Regions from separate parts of the Homo sapiens genome. Here regions 2, 3 and 4 are each linked to region 1. The links are contacts of gene promoters, found by promoter capture Hi-C in blood cells and fetal thymus (Javierre and others, 2016). All regions are on one chromosome and are shown on one strand. Each heading gives the region's core, a stretch centred on a gene start or on the middle of the fragment in contact. The rest is flanking DNA. Distances are from core to core; before and after follow the strand shown. Region 1 holds the start of SLC4A5 (solute carrier family 4 member 5). Region 2 overlaps STAMBP (STAM binding protein). Region 3 overlaps STAMBP (STAM binding protein). Region 4 holds the start of DGUOK-AS1 (DGUOK antisense RNA 1).

Region 1 (3,425 bases), core at 275-2,774:
CCCCTATCCTATCCCTTCACTGCATCTCCAAGGCCATTTTCTCCACAAAGCTTTTCTTTAACACATGGGGCTGGTAGGTAAGCCATGAACATTTGTGGAACAAGGTAATCCTCCAAACAAGGGTGATTTTTCTTTCACTGAACCCTTCCCTCCCTTTGTGCTTCTTTTTGGAGCCTCACACTCTTCTGAATTTGTTGAATCCCCAACCAGCTGGAAATTCCCTAAGGCCCGAAACTGTTTCTGGCCTAGGCTGTGCTGATCTTCCTGGGACTAAGGGGTTTCCTGGGTCACAGATCTTCTGTGCTAAAACCAGGAAAGCCTCTGGTGACCCAGCATGTGTTGATCTCCCTAGTCTTGCCTGTCTTTGATTCCATGGATTATTAACAGAAACTATAATGTTGGGTTAATGTGTTGGCTTGGGCATGGCCTCCGAAACATGTTTTTTACATGTCTGCCACCAGCAGGCTCTAGATCCAGGAATGAGGCTTTTCCACTAAGGGAAAACTCCACGTGATCTAGGAAGAAAGTGAGGATATCCAACCAGATGATAAATTTCCTATCTGAAAGAGAAGGTCAACCCTGAAATAAGGAGGCTGAAGACCCTTAGAGAAGCCACAGAAGAGACTGGAAGAAGAGGGGTAGAGTTGCTTTTTTAATGGGGCTTCCAGCTCCTACTTTTCTTCCTGTCTGTAAGTCTCTGAGCTTCTGTTCCAGCTCTGTAAGGTTGGGGACGAGAATGCTCTCCCCACTGGACTGTTGAGAGTTCAATGAGGGGAAATGTGTGCATATACCAGGCCCCATGCTGGGTGCCCAGAGACGCTGCGCCTTCCTGGCATGCTTCTCTTCCCCATCGCTCAGCACCGCGTCCCTCACTCCCTCCACTCCCGATTCTCACTTCCTACTCACTGGCTTCTTCCTTCCCATCTTCCTCCAAACTTCCCATTTTCCACTATGTCTCTCTCACCGTATCTTTTTCACTTAAACAAAAATGGAATTCATAAAAACAGAGGCCAAAAGTCAGGATAAACCTGGAAAAATCACCAAGTACGCAAAGTTTTTCTTGCAAGGTTTGGTTTTTTCAAATGCCTTCTTTGTTTTCCTTGCCCATATCCTTCTTCGGAGAGTCAGGATTTGGGGTTTGCAGAGCTGTGTGGCAGTGGAATGTGGAATGTTCTCCTGAATCTCAGTCCCATGAAGAAAAGAGGCAAAAGTCCTGACATCTTTCCTGAGGATTGTCTGATTTAAAAGAGCTGATTCTCCCCAGGCAAATGACTTACCTTTGTTGTGCTGGGACAAGCTGAACAGGCAAGGAATAAACCTCCCTAGAACACACTGATTAGATTAGCCAGTGAGAACCACTGAAGACGCAGACATTAGATTAAAAAACAGAAAAATGAATGTTACTTTTACAGTGGCTATGAATAGACAAAGACTTTTTGGTTTGAAAATAGTTGGTGAGGCAATAGAGGAGGGGCTATGTTAATAGCAGAGATAGAAAAAACGAGAGGTGGATGGTTCCAACTGCAAGGTCCACCCTAAAGGAATTGGAGTCAGGGCCCAGGAGCCACAGGCCACTGCACTGGGGTAAGTAGAGTGGATTTTACATAAATAAAGTTACAGAGTGGTTGTAGGTTCTGGTTTGGAGATGTGAGTGAACCAACTGAATAGAATAGGCAGATTCCCCAGCCCACCAAGAGTCAGATGAGAATTTTATTGCTTTTTGCTAAAGGCCTGTACAAGACTTAGAGCAAAGATAAGGAGTAACCTGATTGTTGAAACTAATCTATAAGTATTCCAACATAGCAAAGGACAAGTAACGGAATGACGAGGTTTTCCTGTAGTAGTGTTGCGATTTTGTTCTGCTGTGTCCCCCTACTCCAGTTTCCTCTGTGAGGGGAGCGTGTAGTGTGTGCATATCTGTGGAATGTCAGACTTCTAAAGTCAGGGGCTGAGACCTATATCTAGTTAGACCTCTGTGCATATTCTTGAGCCATGGGAGTCTCAGTGGTTGATAGTACTTCACACTTCTTCCAGTTCAATAAGGGTTACCTATGGTGTCTCCTCTGAGTCTCCTAGGAGTCCAGAAAACATGAGACTTGTATAAGAATCCACACTTCAACTAAGCTTTCTGGCCCAAAGAAGGCATTGTTACCAAGGATCTGTTTCTTGAGGTCTTTAGGGAGTGAGAGGGAAGGAACGCATGAGGAACCAGAGCTAGTCCCCATCTCTCTCCCTAGAAGTGACAGACTGCATAGCTCTTATGTATCAGGAGTCCTGGAGATCAGCTGGCTTTCCTTAAAAAAGGGTCATCCAGCCGTGATGAAATCCTGACTTAGAAACCCAGTGCCCTTAGCTTTGTGGGCTTCTGTCCCTGAGAAATGGTGTTTTACCCTCCCTCCAAGCAGGCATCCCAGGATTTGGAATTCAGCTGTGAGCTCATGAGCTGATGGATGTTTCCAGGAGTACCCTGAAGACCACCCAGGTATGCTCTCCCCACCTCCTTTATTTTGGATGGACCAGTCTAAGGAGAGTCATCTTTTCCCACACCATTGGTGGCACTCAGTGAGTGGCTTGTTGCTTGACTGAATGCCTGCCCACACCCTCTCCAGTCAAGTTTATCTTGAGTAACTAAACACTTAGCAATGGAGACACTCATACATCTCCACTGCACTAGAAGTAGGGATGGTGGCCATGCCAACAAAGGAGATAACTTTAGCACAAAGGATGTCACAAGAAACAGATAGTAGAGTGTGTTCTCCAGTGTTATCATTTCCCAAACCAGAATCAACTGGTCTTGGGTTTCCTTCCCTCATCCTTCATCTGTAGAAAACTTTGTTTCTTGAGCTACTTCAGATCTACTTCCCTATCTTAAGAGGTGGGCTATGTGCTTCTTCTGCTAATTTATTATCTCAGAAGTACATAATTTGAGCAATTTTATATAGTTTTGAGGACAGGAGCCCTGTAAGAGTCTCTTACTCAGAAATGGATTCAGCTTGGTTTGAGGTTTAATAGGTCATTGCAATGCTCCCTTCTGGTATCACAGGACATAAGCTGGGTTGGGCGGAGTCCCCCTTTTGTGTCTTAGCCTTCCTCTCCTTACTCCAGAGTAAGAGCAGCCCTGATGGAAAAACAAAATTACCATCCATGCCTACTTCATTTCTGCCCCTCTTACTCTAAGTCTGGGCAATCCGCAACATCTTTTTATATTGGACTTCCTAGATCACAGACTCTTTTTTTAGGAAGAGTCAATTCAAGCCACCCAGGACTTATGATCCCTTGCTCTGTGTCGGGCACAGTGTGAGCACAGTAATGGCATGGGCTGCCTGATGTGGGGCAGTCCCTCTTGGTCAGCAATTCACTCAGCAGCCATCTCAGTGCCCCCTGTGTAAATTTGAGGCACTTTGCCAGGCTGTGGGAACAGTGTG
Region 2 (3,425 bases), core at 750-3,249, 500 kb after region 1:
TTCTCCATGATGTGCTTATTTCATATTGCATGCCTGTATCAAAACATCTCATGTACCCCATAAATACATACACCTACTATGTACCCACAAAAACTTAAAAAATAAAAGTAAAAAATAAAATTTAGGGGGGAAAAAGACACAAGTTCTTGAAACATTTGGGAATTTTCTGTCAGAATCTAATACAAAGAATTAAAAAAATAACCTCCCTGCTGTGGTTTGACTGTGTCTCCCAAAGTTCATGTTTTGGAAACTTAATTCCTAATGCAAAATTATTGAGAGGTAGGATCTTTAAGAGGTGATGAGGCTATGAGGGATCTTTGTTTGCCCTTCCACCCTTCTGTCGTGGGATGACGCAGCAAGAAGGCCTTTGCCAGGCCCCTGGGTCTTGGACTTTCCACTCTCCAGAACTATGAACCAAATAAATTTATGTTCATTATAAATTATCCAGCCTCAGGTATTCTGTTATAGCAGCACAAAATGGACTAAGACACTGCCCATTCATCTGAACTTTTAATTTTAAATCTCTTTTATCTCAGATAAGAATATCAGAGTATGACTTTAAAAGAAATACACTGGTGTATATTCTTGAGAATGGAAAACAATCTGGGCAGTTATTTACTTCTGAACTTACTCTTCTGGAAGAAGTTAAATGCCAAACCACAACAAAATAAAAAATACAGTGTAGTCCCCCAAAAAAGGCATGAACAAAGCAGCTCATAAAAAATGCCAAGAATGGACCCAGTTTCTGAACACCATGGAGAAACTCTGTGAGACAGCCAGCAAGCTAAAGTTAGGAAGTGTCTCTCACAGCTATATTTTCATATTTAAAAAAAAAAAGTGGGAGGGGAAAGATGTTCTGCTTTTGCGTATTCAACAGCAAGATCTGAATTGCTAGAGAGGTAACAAAGTCAGAGCAGGGGACACAGAGTCACACAGCAGTCTGATGATGTTATCTGAGGATTATGAATTCGGTTTGGCACATTCTTTTCCTTTCACTAAAAAGTTGACAGTCTGACTTTCAAGAATAATATTAGCTCTTCAGAAAATCGACCAGACTAGGTTTCAGCAAAGGCCACTTTTATAACATAGCCAGTGTATTAGGACACAGTACAGCAATACTTATCAGATGGGTTTCTGTGACCAAAGCTTAATGAGTGGGATCAGGGAGGTAATCTTAGGTTGACCCCGTCAGAATGATACTGTTTGGCTGCAACTGAGAAGGAAGAGGACATCAGCAAATGCACTTACTACTTTCTGAGTTGCTCAGTGCTCCAGGTTTCAAGGACCTGTCCACCACAGGTGGCTTAGCTGGCCTTACAGTTGTGTGACAGTCTGAAGGCTGTATGGATGAGACTGTTAAGGTGGGGAACACATCTAAGGAGGGCTTCTCCAAGTCAGGCACTAGCGGGCCACCTAGGCCAGGGTCTACCTTCCCAAACTCCTGTACAATTTTCAGTCGCTCTTTTTCTAGCTCCTGGTTCCGGATCATCTCCTCGAAGGCATGGAACTGTTCCTGTTCCAATTGCTGCTGCTTCTGTTGTGCTACCCTCTGTTTTTCCTTTTCCAGCTCTTGCTGGATGGCCATGTTCCGGGCCAATTCCTCTGCTTCCTTCTTCTACAAAGAGAGAAAATTTAGGCTAACACTTCACACCTCAGTGACTTCACACTTCAGGAGAACAAGGCTTTTTAGCATGGAGATTTCCAAAATGTACTTCTGCTGTGGCCTGATTACCTAACACAGAATTCATGCTTTCCTCAGTATCTTTATACCCACGGAGTGTAGTCACCACCCCTTTCTATCTGGCCACAGTATACCTATCTCCAAGGACAATTAAAATCCCAATCCTCTCAATACCCTCCCGACAATGACTCTACCTAATGCACTTTCCTCTTCACTGAAATCTTTTTTTTTTTTTTTTTGAGACAGGGTCTCATTCTGTTTCCCAGGCTGAAGTGCAATGGCATGATCACAGCTCACTGCAGCCTTGACCTCCCAGGCTCAAGCAATCCTCCCACCTTAGCCTCCTGAGTAGGTGGGACCACAGGTGTGCACCACCACACCTGGCTAATTTTTGTATTTTTTGTAGAGACAGGGTTTCGCCATGTTGCCCAGGCTAGTCTTGAACTCCTGGGCTCAAACAATCTGCCCACCTCGGCCTCCCGAAGCGCTGGGATTCCAGGTGTGAGCCACAATGTCTGGCCTGAAATCTTGATGCAACTTACTATCTGTGTTCTCCTAACCTGTATCACAGACAGTTTTATTCTTCTCTCTGTGTCATGTACATATTCTATATTTCAAGTAAGGCTATAAAATAGAACCAGATCCAAACTTATACCTGCTATCTTGGGGGTCTCTACTGAATTTTTTTTTTTTTTCTTAGAGAGTCTCACTCTGTCACCTAGGCTGGACTGTAGTGGTCAATCATGGCTCACTGCAGCCTCAATCTCCCTGGGCGCAGGTGATCCTCCCATCTCAGCCTCCCGAGTAGCTGAAACCAGAGGTGCGTGCCACCACACTAATTTTTGTATTTTTTGTAGAGACCCAGCTAATTTTTGTATTTTTTGTAGAGATGGGGTTTCACCATGTTGCCCAGGCTGGTCTCGAACTCCTGGGCTCAAGCGATCACCCACTTCAGGCTCCCAAAGTGCTAGGATTACAGGCATGAGCCACCACGTCTTGCCTTCTACTGAATTTTAACCCAAAATGAGGCCTCTGAAATTTTTATGGTTTTTGTGCATTTGTTCAACACAGAGTGACATTTTAAGCTAATAAGAAATACTTGAGAGGCATTTGGATTAAAAAAAAAAAGAAAGAAAGAAATGCTAAGTAATAACCTCCTCCTTAAAGCTTACACTCACTTGGTGCTTTAGAAGTATATACCTCATAGCTGTTCATCCCTCTGCTGATTTTCAACATCAGAGTCCAGAATAGAGACCAGCAGACAGCTACACAACAGCCTGTGAGTGGCTGCAGTATGTATTCACAGCTGGCCACTGACAGCGCCCTGGCAGTTTCTCCACATGTTTTAACTGACTTCCTAAAAAGAATCATTTGAAAATAGCTTGAAATGGCTGGGTGCAGCGGCTCACGCCTGTAATCCCAGCACTTTGGAAGGCCGAGGCAGGCGGATCACTTGAGGTCAGGAGTTTGAGACCATCTTGGCCAACATGGTGAAACCCCATCTCTACTAAAAATACAAAAATTAGCCGGGTATGGTGGCGGATGCCTGTAGTCCCAGTCACTCGGGAGGCTGAGGTAGGAGAATCACTTGAGTCGGGGAGGCAGAGGTTGCAGTGAGCTGAGATCGTGCCACTGCACTCCAGCCTAGGCGACAGAGTGAGACTGTCTCAAAAAAAAAAAAAAAAAATAGCTTGAAAAGTCAATTCTTATAAATAGCTTCAGGTATAACCAAATGTGAATCCAA
Region 3 (3,425 bases), core at 523-3,022, 480 kb after region 1:
AACCCAGCTCTGCTCTGACCCCAAGCAAATCAGCTCCTCTGATTCTCTCTGCACCTGGCCTATGGCACTTTGGTAGGTTTGTGCCTCCCAGGGCAACTGGGACATTGTTTGGCAACCTGACGATGCTTTTGTCTCCCCTCTCAGCCCAGAACACTAAGTATGGTACTTGTGCAGCTTGCAAGAGTGGAAAAGTCTCCTGGTCTTTGAGCCTCGGGAACCCAGGAGTCAGTCCCTTTAGCCAAATAGTCATTACCCTTTCAATACAATGTCTTTCCTCAGGTTGCGTGGTCTTTGTCCCTTTTACCCACAGTATTCCTTTCCTCTTTTCCCGACCGCTCTGGCTACTCCTCTTTCTCTCCGGCCTATCCAGTCTCAGGGCTTGTGGGCTGGCTTGATTCCACGTCTCCTCCACAGAGGTAAGATGAAGACAGAGACACTTAGACCATCCTATGCAGAGTGCCTCTGCAGTGGCTAGGCTGCAGCAGATATGAAGAGGGATCTACAGACTGATTTCCTGCACCCATCTAGCCACTAAGATATCTTGTGCCTAGAGGAAGAGAAAAGAAAATATAGCAGTTTGGTGATCAGTCTGTGATCAATGTGGTTGCAACGTATGATATGTTGTTGACCTGGCTGAATGTCTTTGGTGGGCAGAGACGGATAAGAGAGCTCACAATTCTTAGGTATCAAAGACCAATGCAGTGGTTGTCAACCCTGGTTGTACTTGAGAATTCTAGCAGCTTGAAAGACAAATGCAGAAACAACATCTGAGGCTCCACCCTAGAGATTCAGCTTTAATTGGTGGGGGGTAGAACACAGGCATCAGTATTTTTTAAATTGCTCCCTAGATATTTGAATATATAGCCAGGGGTAAGAACTTTAAGTGGAAAGTTCTGACTAAAAGCTAAATTTAGATTTTCAGCAATGGGAAGCTATTGCAGGTTTTTGAGCAAGAGAGAAAACATGAACATGGCTGGAATGTGAGAAGCTTCTCCTGATCAAAGTGTGCAGAACAGACTGGAATGAAGAAATGCTAAAAACAAAGAGACTTGGTAAAAGCCAACGGCTACAGTCGAAATAAAAGGTAAGAAAGCCCTAAGCTAAGTGGTAGACAAAGAATGGGAAGAAGGGGATGGATTTCCCAAAAGCAGAGGACTGGGCAATTTCAGGACTGTTTAGAGCAAGGTGGAACAGCCAGGCTGCTCTGGGCTGCAGCAGGAAATGGCTTGTCCAAGCCCAGCTGGCCCCCAGACCCACCCATACCAAAACAGCAAAGAAGGAATTTCCACTATATGGGGAATTAAGAACCCAAGAGAAGAAAAAGAATATAGAGAACTGGGCTCTTTCAGGGGACAAGTTCAAGGACCACTAACCTAAGCAATAAAGACTGAGACAAAATTTAAAAATGAAGAAAACTTTATGCATTCACAGATTCTCCCTCCCCCACCTAGAATTCTGATAAAGAATAAATCACTCTTCTCCTAGCCAAAGTATTTACTCTCCTGCCCTCACTCGAGGTGTCACAAATGACACCATTATTTCTAGGCCACCTAGAACACCAGGCTCAGCTCACAGAAAATTGCAGTAACAATTGCTGCTTCAAGCGTTTTCCTAGGTATTGCCTTAGTCAGAAAAGAACAGCCAACACAATGAAATTGGTAGGGTGGGGTGGCTGGGAAATGTAATCATTTATTGGAGTGTAACCTGGTACTCCAAACAAAGGCTTCATTATCCTCAGCCAAAAGCATGGAGGGCATAAGGAGGAAGTGAATGGTTGACCCATTTGAGACAGCACCAAAAGAACAGAGATGACTTCACAACACCTCTGGAAGATGGCAACAGGCAGATAAAAAACAAGGAGTAATTAAAAGTGAACTGGGACACACCATCAGTGTCAGTATATCTCAAATTCCATTTTTCCTTCACCTTTCCAAAACAACCATACCTTTTTTTTAACCTGTTTATACAATGCTTGATCAAATGGATCACTCTGAAGCACAAAAACATAAGTTAATTGTTACTTTATTGTAGAGGAAAAATATCCTGAAATATTTATTAAATAACAATAATTCCTGACAAAATCATTCTTCGGGATGTGTTAGCCAAACAATCTGGTCAAATGGAGTAAGCTGTCCCTCACCCCAGTAATAAGCTCCATTCATATTGCCATAAACCACAGGAAAATCCAAAAGATTTTCTAAATGGCTTCCAAATTTCTGCACAGATGCCCTTATTGAGCCCAGAGGTAAATATAAACAAATTGAAATTAGAGAGAAATTAGAAGGATAGCTGAGAGGAAAAAAATGTTAACAATTGGTGAATCCAGAAGGAAGGGTATATGGGGGTTCATTATACCATTCTTTCTTAATTTCTGAGCTACTTAATTTCTGAGTAACTTAATTTCTGAGTTACAGTTGCTTTTGGGTGACCATGTTCTCTTTCTGACTTGCCTAAAAAATATGTTCAGTTATTTCTTTTCAAACCTGAAATACAAAATCAGCTCTTTCTCAGGTGATGCCCCCCTTTCTACTATCTACAAAAACTTCCAAAGCTTTCTAGAAAGCTTAAATTAAGGGGCTACAGTACACTGATATGGTTTTGTTGTTCTTGGAAGGTGTTGGACTCAAACGCTCATCGAAGGTCTGTGATGGTCACTGCTCTGTCCACAACAGTCACGTGGCTGCAGCTCTGCAATAGGAAAAAAGAAAGGTGGAGTCCTAGAAAATTCTGAAAAGTCTTTTTTTTTTTTTTCTTCATATAGGGTCTTGCTCTGTTGCCCAGGCTGGAGTGCAGTGGCACGATCTCGGCTCACTGCAACCCCCGCCTCCTGGGTTCAAGCGATTCTTCTGCCTTAGCTTTCCCAGTAGCTGGGATTACAGGCACGAGCCACCATGCCTGGCTAATTTTGTGTTTTTAGTAGAGGTGGGGTTTCGCCATGTTGGTCAGCCTGGACTTGAACTCCTGACCTCAAGTAATCTGCCTGCCTCAGTCTCCCAAAGTATTGGGATTATAGGCGTGAGCCACCGTGCCCGGCCTGAAAAGTCATTTTAAAAAACCACTTTTTGGCTGGGTGCGGTGGCTCACGCTTGTAATCCCAGCACTTTGGGAGGCCAAGGTGGGCAGATCATGAGGTTAGGAGATCAAGACCATCCTGGCCAACATGGTGAAACCCTGACCCTACTAAAAAAAAAAAAAAAAAAAAAATTTAACCCGGTGTGGCGGCGCGCACCTGTAGTCCCAGCTACTCGAGAGGCTGAGGCAGCAGAATTGTTTGAACCTGGGGGGCAGAGGCTGCAGTGAGCTGAGATCATACCACTGCACTCCAGCCCGGCAACAGAGCGAGACTCTGTTTCAAACAAAAACAAAAACAAAAACAAAAACAAAAAAACCCTTATTTAAAATGTTCATTCTAGGCTAGTGGTTCT
Region 4 (3,425 bases), core at 396-2,895, 360 kb after region 1:
CTGGCTTCCAAACCTGAATCTGCCACTTGGTAACAGTGTGACCTTGGACTAGGTACTCCATCTTCAAGGGAATCCAAGTAAAAGACTTAATATAGGGCTCAATGAATGACAACAACTAATATTGTTTAATCCATATGACAACCTTGTGAGGTAGGTACTATCATCAAACCCATTTTATGGATAAGAAAACAGATTAAATAACTTGCCCAGGATCACTCAGCTAGTAAGTTGTGGACTTTCAGAGGAGCCCAGCAGCCATCCTCTTGTATTCTGTCTGGGTAAATGGCACCAGCAAGTTACTGTGTCATTTACTCTTTGCCAGCAATCTATGAGAGGGTCATTTCATAAAGCCCTCTCGTTTAGGTAACTGGGTGAATGCTGGTGCCATTCACTGTGACAAAATGCAGAAGGAAGGATGCCTGGGGATGGAGACATTCGTGTGAAAGTGAGTGTGCAACTGAGGGGGTGAGGCCTGGGTTTGAGATTTGGGCCCCATCAGTGAGCAGACAGCGAGGCCTCAGTTGTGGAGGAGCTCATCCAGGGTGGATATGGAGTGTGAGAGGGAAAGGCTGCCAGGACAGAGCCCCAGGGAATACCAGCCCATGAGGGACAGGAGCTGAGAAGGCGCCGCCAGAGAGGTTGGAGGGAACCCAGCCAGGCTAGAGAGCTGCCTGTCATATCTTCCCGGCCTCTGGAACCTTACACTTCGGCAGTCCTGTTGCTCATTCCTTCTGCCTGGGGAAAAACCCTTCCCACCCCACCCCTTCTCAGCTACCCCTTGTACCTGCCAAATTCCCACTCATCCTGCAAGTCATAAGTGCCAGTTCCATGAAACCTCCAGCTGCTCAGATGATTCCAGAGCCCCACCCACTCTCCCTCCACAGAAGTTTGACTCTCCCTGCCTAGGAACAGTTATCTCATCGGCGCTGGGCACTGGAATGGTTTGCATGTTTCTTTCCCAGTTACTACAAACTCCTGGAAGGGTAGCACGCTGTCTTTCACCTCATAACCCTAGACCTAGCAACCAACCACTGTGTTGAATGAAGAGACGAGGTGAGTAGACCCTAATGAATGACAGACCCCAGTAACACTGAAGACCCATAGGCTTCTTTCCTGCTTTCTTTACGACTTGCACAAACTGGTCAGGGGCGCCCAAGATAAAACAGCCTAAACTCCTCAGGTCCTGCCTTCTGGTTCTCCAGCCTCCTGGGCTGCTGCGGCTATTCCCATTCACATTGCGCTCAGGGCAGGAGAGCAGCGGGGGTGGGCGTAGGGATAGGGCGAGCCCTTCCTGGGGCTGCATTAGCCTAGACGCAGTGGTTCCGCCAAGAGAGCCCCGGCACCAGCAGCATCACCATCTCCTGGGAACTGGCTAGAAATGCAAGCTCTCGGCCCCATCCTAACCCCACTGAATCAGAAACCCTGGGGGCGGGCCCAGCAATCTGTTTTAATTAGTCCGTCAGGTGAAGTCAAGTTAGAGCAGCACTGGACTACAGCAAGCGGGGGAGAAGGAAGTTCAGCACCCAGGTGGAGACTGCGATTAGGCCCCCAAGGCGCTTAGAGCAGACAGAGGGAGAGAGGCTCCTTTTAGGAGCGGGTTTGGCGGGCGCCACCCCAAGCGGCCAAGGGCGGAGCCTCTTTTAGGCGACTGCTCCCGCGAGGTCAGAGCCGGGCTGTGCCGCTGCCCCCGGGACTAGAAAGGGAAATCTCCTTGCTAGAGGAGGAAGCCCTAAGAACTCAAGGGAGATAGGGGTGGCAGGGGCATTTCCCTGGATGCCTGGAGCATGGAGGGTGCGAAATAAGGAGGCTTTCCTACCCCATTGATGAGCTGAAGTTGATTCCGCACGGGGGAGGAAAGGGACAGGAAGCATAATTGGATGTGCAAGCCTGTGGTTCTTCAGGAAGTTAACACGTGGAACTAACACTGTTGGATGCTGCTGAACTCTCAGGTGATTGATGTGACTAACCTCCTCAGGTACTTGACCTCTCTCCTCTTCAGCTAATGAGTAATTTGTCCTTATTTAAGAATGAGATTTGCGTATGGGGACCTTTTGCAGAAATGTAAATACATCCCGATATCCATACCTGGGCTTGGTTTTAAAGACTGAAGGTATTGGGAGGTTTATTTGATTTTGGATGTATTACTTCTTTGGTCATGTATTGGCTAAAAATATTATCAACTAATATTTGCATAGATCTTTCCCTTTTCAAAGCACTTCCACACACATTATCCTTCTGTCTGCACAGAGTGGCAAATACAACAAATGTGCAAATGTTAACTTTCCTTATCTATGACATAGTTTTTATTATCATCACCATTTTACAGATAAGAGAACTGGCGCTCAGTGAGGTAATTTGTCCAAGGTCATTCACTACTACATGTCAGAATCCAGGACCTACAATCCAGGACCTCTGAAATTAGCCCACGAATGCTAGAGCTGATACCAGGCAGAAGCTGGCATTTTGCTCTCAGGGAAAGGGAGGTTCATTAGTGGGTTGCTTGTGGACCTGCATTGGTGAGTGTGACACGTGTAGGATATCTATGCTATGCGTTTTTGGGTTTTTTGTTTTGTTTTGGTTTTGGGTTTTGGTTTTTTTTTTTTCTTTGAGATGGAGTCTCACTCTTGTCACCCAGGCTGAAGTGCAGTGGCGCGATCTGGGCTCACTGTAACCTCTGCTGCCCAGGTTCAAATGATTCTCCTGCCTCAGACTCTCGAGTAGCTGGGATTACAGGCACCTGCCACCGCGCCCAGCTAATTTTTGTAGTTTTAGTAGAGACTGGTCTTGAACTCCTGACCTCATGATCCACCCACCTCGACCTCCCAAACTGCTGGGATTACATGAGTGAGCCACCGCGCCCGGCTACTACGTTTTTCAATAGCCCCGCAAATGTCCTCATGTTTTATAACTAGTTTTGTGACTGCATTTTGAATTTTTTGAATCAAATAGGCTTCATTACTTGCAAGGAGAATGCAAGGGTACCCATCATAATGGAAGGAATACCCAACAGGGATAAAGGCCTTGGTGCCCCTGAGCCTTGGTTGACAGGGTGTATCAGTCAGGATCAGTTAGATTGTGCTGGAGTAATAGACAATCCCCAAATCACAGTGGCTTTACATAACAAAAGTGTATTTCTCAATCACAAAACGTGTCCATTATGAGTCATTAGGAGCTCTGTTTCCCGTAATCACTCGGGCATCCAGGCTGCTGCAACTGGACATGCATCTCCTCAACCCTGAAGGCAGGAAACAAGAATGGGGCAAATCTAGCACTGGCTCTTAAAGCTTTTCCCTGGAAGTGACACACATCACTCCTGCTGTCATCTCACTGGCCAAAGAAAGTTACAAGGGGGCAGGGAAGTGCAATAAGTACAATCCTGCTATGTGCAGGAAGGATAAGCAGAAGTATTTGGTTAACAGCACTAA

Evidence for each region. Contacts are between HindIII fragments. The CHiCAGO score rates a contact against its expected background, and 5 or more counts as called.
Region 2: a fragment that was not itself captured here is called in contact with the fragment with the promoter of SLC4A5 in region 1 in 12 of 17 cell types (naive B cells, total CD4 T cells, total CD8 T cells and 9 more); the score reaches 12.8 in naive B cells.
Region 3: a fragment that was not itself captured here is called in contact with the fragment with the promoter of SLC4A5 in region 1 in 11 of 17 cell types (naive B cells, total B cells, naive CD4 T cells and 8 more); the score reaches 10.7 in naive B cells.
Region 4: the fragment with the promoter of DGUOK-AS1 here is called in contact with the fragment with the promoter of SLC4A5 in region 1 in 1 of 17 cell types (activated CD4 T cells); the score reaches 5.4 in activated CD4 T cells.

What each region holds. Positions count from the first base shown.
Region 1 is chr2:74,341,515-74,344,939 of GRCh38, reverse strand. SLC4A5 (solute carrier family 4 member 5) reads left to right here and starts at 1,524. Exons shown (of 31, transcript NM_133478.3): 1 at 1,524-1,584; 2 at 2,406-2,482. The HindIII fragment of the contact is 2,074 bases long and covers 53-2,126 here.
Region 2 is chr2:73,845,577-73,849,001 of GRCh38, reverse strand. STAMBP (STAM binding protein) reads right to left here. Exons shown (of 10, transcript NM_213622.4): 5 at 1,249-1,615. All of the region lies in intron 1 of LOC112268419 (a long non-coding RNA gene), which reads left to right. Among named protein-coding and RNA genes, the nearest start is that of STAMBP, 18 kb to the right of the region's middle. The HindIII fragment of the contact is 1,702 bases long and covers 1,149-2,850 here.
Region 3 is chr2:73,861,466-73,864,890 of GRCh38, reverse strand. STAMBP (STAM binding protein) reads right to left here. Exons shown (of 10, transcript NM_213622.4): 10 at 1-2,688. The coding sequence ends at 2,632. Among named protein-coding and RNA genes, the nearest start is that of ACTG2, 30 kb to the left of the region's middle. The HindIII fragment of the contact is 1,563 bases long and covers 991-2,553 here.
Region 4 is chr2:73,979,659-73,983,083 of GRCh38, reverse strand. It overlaps DGUOK-AS1 (DGUOK antisense RNA 1), which reads left to right and starts at 1,645. Exons shown (of 2, transcript NR_104030.1): 1 at 1,645-1,949. The HindIII fragment of the contact is 8,489 bases long and covers 1-3,286 here.